2 separate regions of the Homo sapiens genome follow, and region 2 is linked to region 1. Evidence: promoter capture Hi-C in human tissues and cell types (Jung and others, 2019). All regions are on one chromosome and are shown on one strand. Each heading gives the region's core, a stretch centred on a gene start or on the middle of the fragment in contact. The rest is flanking DNA. Distances are from core to core; before and after follow the strand shown.

The links. Contacts are between HindIII fragments. The study calls those that stand out against the background at their distance.
Region 2: a contact is called between a fragment that was not itself captured here and the fragment with the promoter of CDC42EP1 in region 1, in 1 of the 25 tissues and cell types used here (liver).

Annotation. Positions count from the first base shown.
Region 1 is chr22:37,557,267-37,563,637 of GRCh38, forward strand. It overlaps CDC42EP1 (CDC42 effector protein 1), which reads left to right and starts at 3,214. Exons shown (of 3, transcript NM_152243.3): 1 at 3,214-3,322. RefSeq lists enhancers at 3,850-4,456, 4,457-5,064, 4,533-4,762, 5,065-5,671, 6,199-6,371. The HindIII fragment of the contact is 19,033 bases long and covers 1-6,371 here.
Region 2 is chr22:37,877,290-37,883,660 of GRCh38, forward strand. It overlaps EIF3L (eukaryotic translation initiation factor 3 subunit L), which reads left to right. Exons shown (of 13, transcript NM_016091.4): 11 at 385-882. Among named protein-coding and RNA genes, the nearest start is that of MICALL1, 26 kb to the right of the region's middle. RefSeq lists a silencer at 2,789-2,948. The HindIII fragment of the contact is 6,851 bases long and covers 1-6,371 here.

The DNA.
Region 1 (6,371 bases), core at 1,964-4,463:
CTCTCTGCCTCAGCTTACCCAGATGTAAAAGGGGGCAAGAATTCCTGATTCACAGGTTGCCTGTCAATGAGCTGGAGAAGACAAAGCGTGTGGCATATATAGTAGGGAGGTTCTCAACCTCTTGTTCTTTCCTGCCTGCCCTCCCTGCCCGCGGGTGAAGAAGATGGAGCAAGCATGGGGCAGGTTGTAACCACTTCCATCAGGACTGCTTGCTCAGTCATCTGCCTGGGGCTCACAACACCCCAACTAGTAAATACCCACACTGCTATTATACCCATTTCAGAGATGAGAAACTTGAGGCTCAAATGGGCCAAGTGCTTTGCCCACGGTCAGCCACTGGGCCAGGATTTGAGCTCAGGGCCTTTGACATTGCACCAGACTGCCTCCTTTACCAGCCGCTCTAGGGATCCTCTGACTAGAGTGACGTGTAATTGATTGTCTAACCAGGTCACCTTTGAGAATGAAAGGAAGTGCTATTAATAATTACACTGGAACAGTATGTGTAATCTGGGCTGTCCTAGGCAAACTGGAAAGTATGGCCATCCTGCCAAAGTAGGGAGCTTTACGCAAATCACTTCACTTATCTGCAAAAGGGACACCATGGCAGGACTTTCCCTATGGGGCTCTCACAAGAATTAAATGTCATAATGCATGTTAATGAGCTACAGGACCTGGTATGCATCAGGTGCTCAATAAGTGCTGGTTACTACTGATGCTATTAATAGTAATAACCACAGTAGCACTAGTTCTTTGTTTCCATCACTGTCCTTCCAGTCCATTCTTCACTCACAGTCAGATTTCTATTTTGTTTTTTGTTTTTTTGAGATGGGGTCTCGCTCTGTCGCCCAGGCTGGAGTGCAGTAGCACGATCTCAGCTCACTGTAACCTCCGTCTCCCAGATTCAAGCAATTCTCCTGCCTCTGCCTCCTGAATAGCTGGGATTACAGGCGCCCACCACTATGCCCGGCTAATTTTTGGTATTTTTAGTAGAGACAGGATTTCACCATGTTGGCCAAGCTGGTCACGAACTCCTGACCTCAAGTGATCTGCTCGCCTCGGCCTCCCAAAGTGCTGGGATTACAAGTGTGAGCCACCGCGCCCGGCACTTTTTTATTTTTATTTTTTAAGATGGAGTCTCGCTCTGTTGACCAGGCTGGAGTGCCGTGGTGCGATCTCAGCTCACTGCAACCTCCGCTTCCCAGGTTCAAGCAATTCTCCCTGCCTCAGCCTCCCGAGTAGCTGGGATTACAGGCACCCGCCACCACGCCTGGCTAATTTTTGTATTTTTAGTTGAGACGGAGTTTTACCATATTGGTCAGGCTGGTCTCAAACTCCCAGCCTCAAGTAATCTGCCCACCTCAGCCTCCCAAAGTGCTGGGATTACAGGCGTGAGCAACCACGCCGGGCAACAGTCAGTCTTCTAAATGTACACCTGCCAGTGCTGCCTGCTGGCTCACTGTCCTGATGCTGTTCCAGTTCTCCATGGGACAAAATACTCCTGGGCCGGCCCCCAGGGAAAGAGTTCCTACTGCTGTGCCACTTGAGCAAATGCTAGAATGCTTTGTGCCTCTGTTTCCTCATTTGTCCAGCTGCAGAAATAGCTCCTTCCCTTGGTGGCCAGCATGGGGATTCAGGGAGCCAGTGGAAGAGGCCTAGCCCCTGGGTGAACAGTAAAGACCTTGTCTCCTCCACCTGCGGGTAAATACAGCTCCTCATCCCCGGCCACAACAGCGCTCAGCCAGTCTCCTTCAGCCGGGTTTGCCTCCGCTGCAGGGTCCTCCACTCCCAGCCTTTGCTGTGCTGTCCCTTGCCAGCTGTGCACTGTGCATTTCCACTGCCCTTCCCTCTGCCTACACGTCCTTTAAGACTTAACTCACAACCATGCAGTGGCTCACACCCATAATCCTAGCACTTGAGGAGGCCAAGGCAGGCGGATCACCTGAGGTAAGGAGTTCAAGACCAGCCTGGCCAACATGGTGAAGCCCCCTCTCTACTAAAAAATACAAAAATTAGCCGGGCGTGGGTGGGTGCCTGTAATCCCAGCTAGTCCGGAGGCTTAGGAGGGAGAATCGCTTGAACCCGGGAGGTGGAAGCTGCAGTGAGCTGAGATCATGCCATGGCACTCCAGCCTGAGCAACAGAGAGAGACTCCGTCTCAAAAAAAAAAAAAAAAAAAAAAAAAAAAAAAAAAAAAAAAAAAAGAGAGAGAGAGAGACTTAACTCAGGTATCATCTCCTCTAGGAAGATTTCCTGAGCCCCCAGGCCCTGCAGGAAGTATTAGGGACCTCTCTGTGCCCTGACAGCCCGAGGACTCTATAGTCAGATGGGAGTAGTCAAAGGAGGGCACAACAACGGGAGGCAGGGGCCAGAGATCTATCTCCCCTCCTTGAGGATGGCACAGGGTCCCGGGTATGGCTGATTCCCTGCCCTCCATGGAGGTGGGCGGGGTGGGGGGAGGGTCTGTAAAGTCTCTGAGATGCGACTTCATTTACCTGCCGAGCAAGCCTCCTAGGTGCTCTTGGAGCAGGAAACACTTCACACAACATCTGATGCTGCTATTATCTATCCCACTTTCAGATCAGGAAACTGAGGCAGAGAAAGGTAAGTAGTGACTGAGGCAGGACAGGAGCCCAGGCTGTCCGGCTCCAGGGTCCCGGTCTTGACGGCCACTCTACCCCACTCTACCAGTCGCCCCAGTATGGCTGTCTTCCTCCTGGGCACCGCGGGGCCTGTACCGGATGGAAGGGAATGAGAATGGGGAGCAAAGGAGTGGGCATGTCATGCCTGTAAACATCAAGGTTTAAAGGCCCAGGCATTCAAGGCCTCAGATCGAGCTTCCCGGTTCCCCGAACTCCCGCAGGGCGCGGCTGGAGGGCCCAGGAGGGAGGAGAGTTCATCAGGCCTGGACGCCCCAAGCAAGGCCACGAGGGGAACCGGTGGAAGAGGGGTTGGCGGCCGGGGACCGGAGTCGCCTCCCCGGGGCAGCCCGCACGTTCCCCGGCTGGCCTTGTCCGGGGTGGCGAGCAGAGGCCTGGCCTGGCCCCCCAGCCGCGTCCCTGCCAGCTCTCGGCGGCCGCGAGGACGGTGCCGGGGAGGGGGCCGGGGAGGGGGCCGGGCCCCGCCCGCGGGCGGGAGGAGACGGGCGGGAGGCGGGAGCGCCCACACCCCGCCCCCGCCCCCGGATCCAGCCCGCGGAGCCCGCGGCCAGGGCGGCGCAGACCGGCCCAGCGACTCTCCCGGGCTGCCAGCCGGGACGCGCGGCCGCCGCCGCTGCAGACGACGAGTCCGCCCTCGTCCCGCGCCCCCGGGGCTCGCGGAGCCAGGTAACAGCCCGGGCGCGCGGGTCCTCGGGGCGGAGGCCGTGGAGGCCGGCGGGTCCCGGCGCCCGCGGGGACTCTGCACCCTACTAGGCTCCCGGGGCCGGAACGGGGACGGGACCCGCCCGGGAGAGGCGCCCCCGGGTGCCCACAGGAAGGCCGGGCGCGGCCGCGGAGCCGCGCGAGGAAACTCCGAGCTTTCGGGCTTCGTGTCCCGTTCCAGGCTGGTGGAGGGGGCAGAGGATCGGACACGGCTGAGCGGCCAAAATGCGCGAGGAGGGGGCGAGCCGAGGGGCAGAGCGGGGGCTGTCTCCGCGCCTTCCTGCGCGGGGGAAGGAAGGGCCGGGGCGGGCAGCGGGCGACGCGGCGGAATGTCTCCCCTCCGCCGAGGCCCACGCGGAGAGCGGGAAGTGGGGGGTGGGGGGCCCGGGGAGATGGACAGGCACCCTGCCCCCCTCCCCGACCGCCGCATTCCAGGCTGGAGCCGCGGATGAGGTCATCCCGTCCGGTTCCCCTCCGGCCAAGACAGCCGGTCGTCCCCTTCCCCCGCGGAGCGACCCTCCGCGTCCTGAGCCCCGTCCCCCCAGGGAATGTTGGATGGCCGAAGTCTTTCCCGGACTTCCAATCCCGGCCGCCCTCCAGATTGTTCTGCCTTTGCCCCAGCAGTGCCAGACCCGCAACATTCGAAGCCCTTTTCCTAGACCGGGAAACTGAGGCTTAGAGAGTAGGGGGGACTGGCCGGGAGGCCGCAGCGGCACTAAACGTGGCGCGGGGACCCGAGACGCGGCCCGCAGCCGCTCCGTCTCGCTCGGTCCCGGGCTGGTTCGGCTCTAACTCGGGGCGGTGGGCACGAAGCGCGTCTCCTTTCCACTTTCCCCGTCGCTCCCTAATGGCCCACGGTGCCCCCCTTGGAATACGGAGGACCGGGTCCCCTAGCGCGACTGCGAACAACTAGCTACCCCGTTCTGGCCTCAGTTTCCCCGTCTCTCCACCTTGAAGCGTCTGGACTTTGAGGAGCAGGAGAAGTCAGCCGACCGGTTTAACCCCTTATTCCAGGGACCAGAGCAGGTTTGGGGGAGCTGCCGTAACCATGACAGGGACCCGCTGTCCAGCGGTGGGGGGGGGCGTCACCCAGCTGGATGCCCGCAGGAAGTGGGCTGTGTGCACCCGAGCAGTGGCCTCCAGGATGAGACGTGGGCCCCTGGCCAGCACTGCGGCCTGCGGGTGACCCCCAGGTGAATGCCAGGGTGCAGCCGCCCCCGCTCTCCTTCAGACCCGCCCTTGGCCTCCCCGCGACCACATGTGCCTCCACAGCGACCCCTGTTGGCCCGATCCCGGCTCCAAAACTTGTTCTTGCGTCATTCCCACCATTGAGTGAGCTCAGGCCATGTGCCCAGGCCCTGACTATCCTCTATAGGGTAAATATAAGGACTCCAAGGACACTGAGGCTGTGTGGTGACCTCCTTGCCCAGGTCACAGGCAGTGAATCTGCAGAGCTGGGTCTCCTGTCTTCCCAGGCCTGCACCTGCACCCCACACCGGGCTCAGCACTGGGCATCCAAGCCCTCCAAATCGTCTTCCCCATTCCCCATCGTCTTCACCCCCACCCTGGGGCATTTACCAGCAATGTTGGTCTGTGACTGAGGGTAAATGTCTCCTTTCTGAGCTTCGTTTTTTCCATCTGTGAAAGGGGTGTTCTGAACACTAACGGGCGGTGTTCCTGAGCAGGTGAGGGGAGGTGAGCCTGGCACCAGGACACTTGGAGCCCTGCTTACTCCAGTGCCAGGTGAGGCACACCTGATGGCCAGCAGTGCCCTGTGGTTGGCAGCAAGTGCCACGTGGCTGCCACCGGGGTCCCTGGAATGAGAGATGTTAGTGTAAAGGTGTCAGATTTGAACCCATGGCTGCCCTGCTCCAGTATCTGAGGGTTTCATTACATTTTCTACCCTTGCAACTCCCCTGGGAGGGGAACTGCCTGGTGTGCTGTTCCGTTTTCCACATGGGAAGACCGGGTCCCAATACCCTGCCCTCAGCTCCACAGCGCTGCAGAGTCTCTCGACCGCAGTAGGCAGGGTAGTGTGAGGGGTGGGTACTATTGGGGGGGTGCCCAGAAACATTTGAAAGATGGGATCATCGCAAGATTGGGGAGGAAGCTGGTCCCCCAAGTCAAAAGTGACCATGGGGGTTCAGGGGGGAGGAGCCCCTTTTGCTGGGAGATGAGGTGCTGCCTCAAGAAGTCAGGGAGGCCAGGTGTGGTGGTTCACACTTGTAATCCCAGCACTTTGGGAGGCTGAGGCAGCAGGATGGCTTGAGTTCAGGAATTTGAGACCAACCTGGGCAATGGAGTGAGACCCTGTCCTTACAAAAAGTGGAAAAACTTAGCTGAGCATGGTGGTATGTGCCTGTAGTCCCAGCTACTCAGGAGGCTGAGGTGGGAGGATCGCTTGAGCCTGGGAGTTCGAGGCTGCAGTTAGCTGTGATGGAGCCACTGCACTCAGCCTGGGTGACAGAGTGAGACCCTGCCTCAAAAAAGAAAAAAAAAAAAGTCAGGGAGCTGGGGTGGGAGCAAGTGGGTAAGGCCACATGGCAGACCCTTCTACAGGACATTGTACAGAGGAACACCCTTCCCGCTCCCATTCCTTCCCCCAGAGATGCATCCTTAATCCCTGCTGAGCAGGGAAACTTGGCCCTGCCATGAACCTGTCACTTAACCTTGGACAGGTCTCCCTTCCCTCCGAACCTCAGTGCTGCCTGTCAAATAGGCCACGCTGCGGCTTTGCAGGGTTGTTGGAGAATCAGATGACATCATGTAATGGTTGGCCAACTGTGGATCGCTTCAGAACTTCAGCAAACATTCCACGAGGACTTCTCGGTGCCGGGGGTGCCAGGGAGGGAAGAAGATGATTCAGAAGTTCCCCCCCACGAGGGGGAGGAGTTAGGGTTGGGGGAGGATCAGATGGTGGGAAGGGAAGAGAATGTAGTCAGAAAACAAAGCAAGCTTTGTCCTATTGGCTTCTTTGTTCTTATCTTGTTATTTAACCTATTTTGAATTTCAA
Region 2 (6,371 bases), core at 1,918-4,417, 320 kb after region 1:
GTTGACTGAAACGCTGTTGCACGGCACATTACTATTTAGTCTATATTTCTGTCGTCATCAAGGTTGCATCAAAGGTTTTGGGTAACTCGATCCTAACTGTGTAAAAGGATTGACCTGCTAGTGATGTGTGGGACAAACTGGAGAGACTAAGACAGAGGTGCCAGTAAGGAATCCAGAAGATGGCTAAGGAGGATCTGGAGCTAGGATGGAAGTTAGGTAGATCTAGAGGGAGGATTGGAAGAGATGTTGGGGAAGTTCAATGGCTGGTATGAAACAACTGGGTAAGTCAAAGATCTGTGCAGAGAATGGTGAGGCCAGTTGGCAGTGGGGACCTCAGGAAGTCCGTCTCATTTGACCCAGTACCACTCTCCACCCCATCCCCAGATTAACAAGCAGAATGAGCAGATGCATGCGCTGCTGGCCATTGCCCTCACGATGTACCCCATGCGTATTGATGAGAGCATTCACCTCCAGCTGCGGGAGAAATATGGGGACAAGATGTTGCGCATGCAGAAAGGTGACCCACAAGTCTATGAAGAACTTTTCAGTTACTCCTGCCCCAAGTTCCTGTCGCCTGTAGTGCCCAACTATGATAATGTGCACCCCAACTACCACAAAGAGCCCTTCCTGCAGCAGCTGAAGGTGTTTTCTGATGAAGTACAGCAGCAGGCCCAGCTTTCAACCATCCGCAGCTTCCTGAAGCTCTACACCACCATGCCTGTGGCCAAGCTGGCTGGCTTCCTGGACCTCACAGAGCAGGAGTTCCGGATCCAGCTTCTTGTCTTCAAACACAAGATGAAGAACCTCGTGTGGACCAGCGGTATCTCAGCCCTGGATGGTGAATTTCAGTCAGCCTCAGAGGTTGACTTCTACATTGATAAGGTATGCCTGTCCCCTGGGCTTGGGGTCTTGTATTAAGTGTTCAGTATCTTTCATTCACTATTGTGGGCACATGAAGTATATCGGGGAACAAAAAGATTCCTGGCCTTGTGGTGCTGCCACAAGGTGCCAGGTGTGGTGGCTCATGCCAGTAATACTAGTACTTTAGGGGAGGCTGGGGTGGGAGGATCACTCTAGCCCAGGAGTTCAAGACCAGCCTGGGCAACGTAGTGAGACCTTTTCTCTATTAAAAAAAAAAAAAAAAAAACACAAGAGATAAACAATAGATGGTTTTGTTTTGGTTTTTTTTTTGAGATGGAATTTCGCTCTCGTTGCCCAGGCTAGAATGTGATGGCACGATCTCGGCTCACCGCAACCTCCGCCTCCCAGGTTCAAGCCATTCTCCTGCCTCAGCCTCCTGAGTAGCTGGGATTACCGGCATGTGTTACCATGCCCAGCTAATTTTGTATTTTTCGTAGAAATGGGGTTTCTCCATGTTGGTCAGTCTGGTGTCAAACTCCCAACCTCAGGTGATCAGCCAGCCTTGGCCTCCCAAAGTGCTGGGATTACCAACAATAGATGTTATAATTAAACAATAGATGTTATAATTAAACAAACTATGTAGTAAGAAGTTGCCAAGCACTGCAGAGTAAAGGAAGGCAGAGGTGGTGGGAAGCACAGGTTGCAATGTTAAATACGGTGTTCAGACAGGCTTTGTTGAGAAAGTGAAGTTTAAGCTAAGCTAAGACTTGAAGGAGGTGAGGGAGTAGTGTTTTGGTTTTTTTTTTTTTTTTTTTGACAGTCTTGGTCTGTCGCCCAGGCTAGAGTGCAGTGGTGCAATCTCGGCTCCCTGCAACCTCCGCCTCCCAGGTTCAAGCAATTCTCCTGCCTCAGCATCCTGAGTAGCTGGAATTATAAGAGGCCGCCACCACACCTGGCTAATTTTTGTATTTTTAGTAGAGACAGGGTTTTGCCATGTTGGCCAGGCTAGTCTCAAACTCCTGACCTGAAGCGATCCATCTGGTGGAGAGTTCTTAATAGCTCACCAAAGGCTGGACACGGTGGCTCATGCCTGTAATCCCAGCACTTTGGGAGGCCGAGATGGACAGATCATGGGGTCAAGAGATCAAGACCATCCTAGCCAACATGGTGAAACCCCATCTCTACTAAAAATAAATTAGCTGGGCATGGTGGCGCATACCTGTAGTCCCAGCTACCCGGGAGGCTGAGGCAGGAGAATCACTTGAACCCAGGAGGCGGAGGTTGCAGTGAGCTGAGATCGCTGCACTGCACTGTAGCCTGGCAACAGAGCGACACTCCGTCTCAAAAAAAAAAAAAATAGCTCACCAGATATCTGGAGGAAGAGCCTTCCAGGCAGAGGAACAGTTAGAGCAAAGGCCCCGAAGAGGAGTGAGGCCAATAAGTTTAAGGGACAGTTGTAGTATGCCCGAGTAGCCTGAGAAAGGAGGCTGTGAAGATGAGATTGGAGAAAGGGGGATGGTGCTTTGTATACTGTTGGAGTACTTTACAAGTGGGAAGCCATTGTCCTGCTGCCTTCTTTATTTTTTTATTTTTAGTTAGCAATAATCACACCTCACATAACCCTCATTGGCCATACTGCCACTGCACAAAGCTTTTTTTTTTTTTTTGAGATGGAGTGTCATTCTGTCGTCCAGGCTGGAGTGCAGTGGCACGATCTTGGCTCACTGCAACCTCTGCCTCCCGGGTTCATGCGATTCTCTTGCCTCAGCCTCCTGAGTAGCTGGGATTACAGGCTCACACCACCACACCCAGCTAATATTTTGTGTATTTTTAGTAGAGACAGGGTTTCACTATGTTGACCAGACTGGTCTCCAACTCCTGACCTTGTGATCCGCCCGCCTCGGCCTCCCAGAGTGCTAGGATTACAGGCGTGAGCCATCGCGCCCGGTATTATTTTATTTTTATTTTATTTTATTTTATTTTGAGATGTCTCGCTCTGTCGCCTAGGCTGGAGTGCAGTGGCGCGATCTCAGCTCACTGTAAGCTTCACCTCCCAGGTTCACGCCATTCTCCTGCCTCAGCCTCCCGAGTAGCTGGGACTACAGACACCCGCCACCACACCTGGCTAATTTTTTGTATTTTTTAGTAGAGACGGGGTTTCACTGTGTTAGCCAGGATGGTCTCAATCTCCTGACCTCGTGATCCACCCACCTCGGCCTACCAAAGTGCTGAGATTACAGGCGTGAGCCACTGCATCCGGCTCTCTTTTTTGAGACAAGGTCTCACTCTGGTTGCCCAGGCTGGAGTGCAGTGGTGTGATCTCAGCTCACTGCAGCCTCAACTTCCTGGGTTCAGGTGATTGTCCTACCTCATCCTCCCAAGTAGCTGAGATTACAGGCGCACGTCACCACGACTGGCTAATTTTTGGTATTTTTAGTAGAGATGGGGTTTGGCCATGTTGCCCAGCCTGGTCTCGAACTCTGATATGTGCCACTGTTCCCAGCCGATTTTAAGTTTTTACTTTATAGAAACAGGGTCTCACTTTGTTGCCCAGGCTAGTTTCAAGTGATCCTCCTACCTTGGCCTCCCAAAATGCTGGGATTACTGGTGTGAGCCACTGCGCCTGTCCTGTCCTGATGTCTAACATCTTGGATTAGTGCTGCCTGTTTGTGAACTTTATATAATGGAATTACACAGTATGTACTCTTTAAGTCTGGCTTCTTTTGCTCAACGTTATAATTGAGTGAGTCACCGTCCATTGTGTGTAGCAGTGATTCCTTCATGTTTATTGTTCTGTGATAGTCCAGCATCTGCTGTTGTTATTGTACTGCAGTTTATCCATTCTCCCATTGATTAACGTTTGGATGGTTTGTATATTACAAAAAATACAAGTAAGGTTTTTACAGAGTGGCTAGTAATACATTTATATATGCCTATGTATGCCTCAAGTTCTTTCCAGAAGGATACACAAGCAACATAGCAGTAGCTTCCTCTCAGGAGGGGAGGTGGGTTGAAGAACAGTGTTAGTTTTCACTGGCACTTTTAAGTTCAAGCTGGACATTTTAATGTCTGATGAGATTTTCATTTTTATTTATTTATTTAGAGACAGAGTCTCATTGTATCACTCAGGCTGTAGTGCAGTGATGTGATCTTGGCTCACTGCCACCTCCGCCTCCTGGGTTCAAGCAATCCTTCTGTCTCAGCCTCCTGATTAGCTGGGACTACAGGCGCTGATGAGCTGATGAGGTTTTTAAAAGAATTGTTTTCTTTTTTTTTAGACTGAGTCTTGCTCTTGTTGCACAGGCTGGAGTGCAATGGCACAATCTTGGCTCACCGGAACCTCTGCCTCCCGGGTTCAGGCGATTTTCCTGCCTCAGCCTCCCGAGTAGCTGGGATGTACAGGGATGCGCCACCATGCCCAGCTAATTTTGTATTTTTAGTAGAGACAGGGTTTCTCCGTCTTGGTCAGGCTGGTCTCGAACTCCCGCCCTCAGGTGATCTGCCCGCCTCGGCCTCCCAAAGTGCTGGGGTTACAGACATGAGCCACCACACACGGCCGTCAGCCCAGGTTTTCTAAGATCAGCAAATGTCCATAGGGCAGAGGGGGTCTTCTGTGCTTTTCTTAGAATGGTTTCTTTTTTCCCAAAATGTTCTGTTACTATCTTGTCAGCTCTTTGATGCTGTAAGTTTTTTTCTAATATCCTGCATTTTTAATTGTTTTTGAAAGCATTTTGGGCCAGGTACAGTGGCTTATAGCTATAATCCCAATACTCTGGAAGGACGAGGCAGGAGAATTGCTTGAGCCCAGGAGTTCAAGACCAACCTGGGCAACAAACCAAGACCCTGTCTCTACTTTTTAAAAAGAGAAAAAGCATGCTGGGCATGATGGCTCACGCCTGTAATCCCAGCACTTTGGGAGGCCAAGGCGGGTGGATCACCTGAGGTCAGGAGATCAAGACCATCCTGGCCAGTATGGTGAAACCCTGTCTCTACTAAAAATATAAAAATTAGCCAGGCATGGTGGCACATGCCTGTAATCCCAGTAACTTGGGAGGCTGAGACAGGAGACTCACTTGAGCCCAAGAGACAGAGGTTGCAGTGAGCTGAGATCAAGCCACCGCATTCCAGCCTTTGTGACAGAGATGAGACTGCATCTTGAAAAAAAGAGAAAAAGCATTTTGGTCTAAATGTATTGTTGGAAATAGCACTTTTTGAGCAGTTCTTAAAAATACATAATTTTAGGCTGAGTGCAGTGGCTCATACCTGTAATCCTATCACTTTGGGAGGCCAAGGTGGGTAGATCATCAGAGGTCAGGAGTTCAAGACCTGCCTGTGCAACATGGTGAAACCCCGTCTCTACTAAAAATATTTAAAAAATTAGCCGGGCATGGTGGTGCGTTCCTGTAATCCCAGCTACTCGGGAGGCTGAGGCACGAGAATCACCTGAACCTGGGAAGCAGAAGCTGCAGTGAGCCGAGATTGTGCCACTGCACTCCAGCCTGGGCAACAGAGTGAGAGACTGTCTCAAAAAAAGAAAAAAACATAATTTTTATACATAATTTGCATGATAAGCCGGGCGCGTTGGTTCACGCAAGTAATCCCAGCACTTTGGGAGGCCGAGCTAGGCGGAACACGAGGTCAGGAGATCAAGACCGTCCTGGCCAATATGGTGAACCCCATCTCTACTAAAAATACAAAAATTAGCTGGGCGTGGTGGCGGGTGCCTGTAGTCCCAGCTACTTGGGAGGCTGAGGCAGGAGACTTGCTTGAACCTAGGAGGCGGAGGTTGCAGTAAGCCAAGATTGCACCACTGCACTCCAGCCTGGGCAACAGAGCGAGACTCCACTTCAAAAAAATAAAAAAAGGCTGGGCATGGTGGCTCACGCCTGTAATCCCAACACTTTGAGAGGCGAAGGTGGGCGGATCACTTGAGGTCAGGAGATCAAGACCAGCCTGACCAACATGAAGAAACCCCATCTCTACTAAAAATACAAAATTAGCCAGACGTGGCAGCGCATGCCTGTAATCTCAGCTACTCCGGAGGCTGAGGCAGGAGAATTGCTTGAACCCGGGAGGTGGAGGTTGCAGTGAGCCAAGATCGTGCCATTGCACTCCAGCCTGGGCAACAAGAGTGAAACTCCGTCTCAAAAAAAAAAAAAAAAAAAAAACTTGCATGATCCCAGCACTTTGGGAGGCTGAGGCAGGCAGATCACGAGGTCAGGAGATCAAGACCATCCTGGCTAACACGGTGAAACCCTGTCTCTACTAAAAATACAAAAAATTAACCGGGCATGGTGGTGGGCGCCTGTGGTCCCAGCTACTCGGGAGGCTGAGGCAGGAGAATGGTGTGAACCCGGGAGGCGGAGCTTGCAGTAAGCAGAGCTCGCGCCACTGCACTCCAGCCTGGGCGACAGAGCGAGACTCCATCTCAAAAAAAAAAATTGCAGGATATAAACTTCACCATTTTAAAATGTGCAATTTGGCCAGGTGTGATGCTTTACACCTATAAT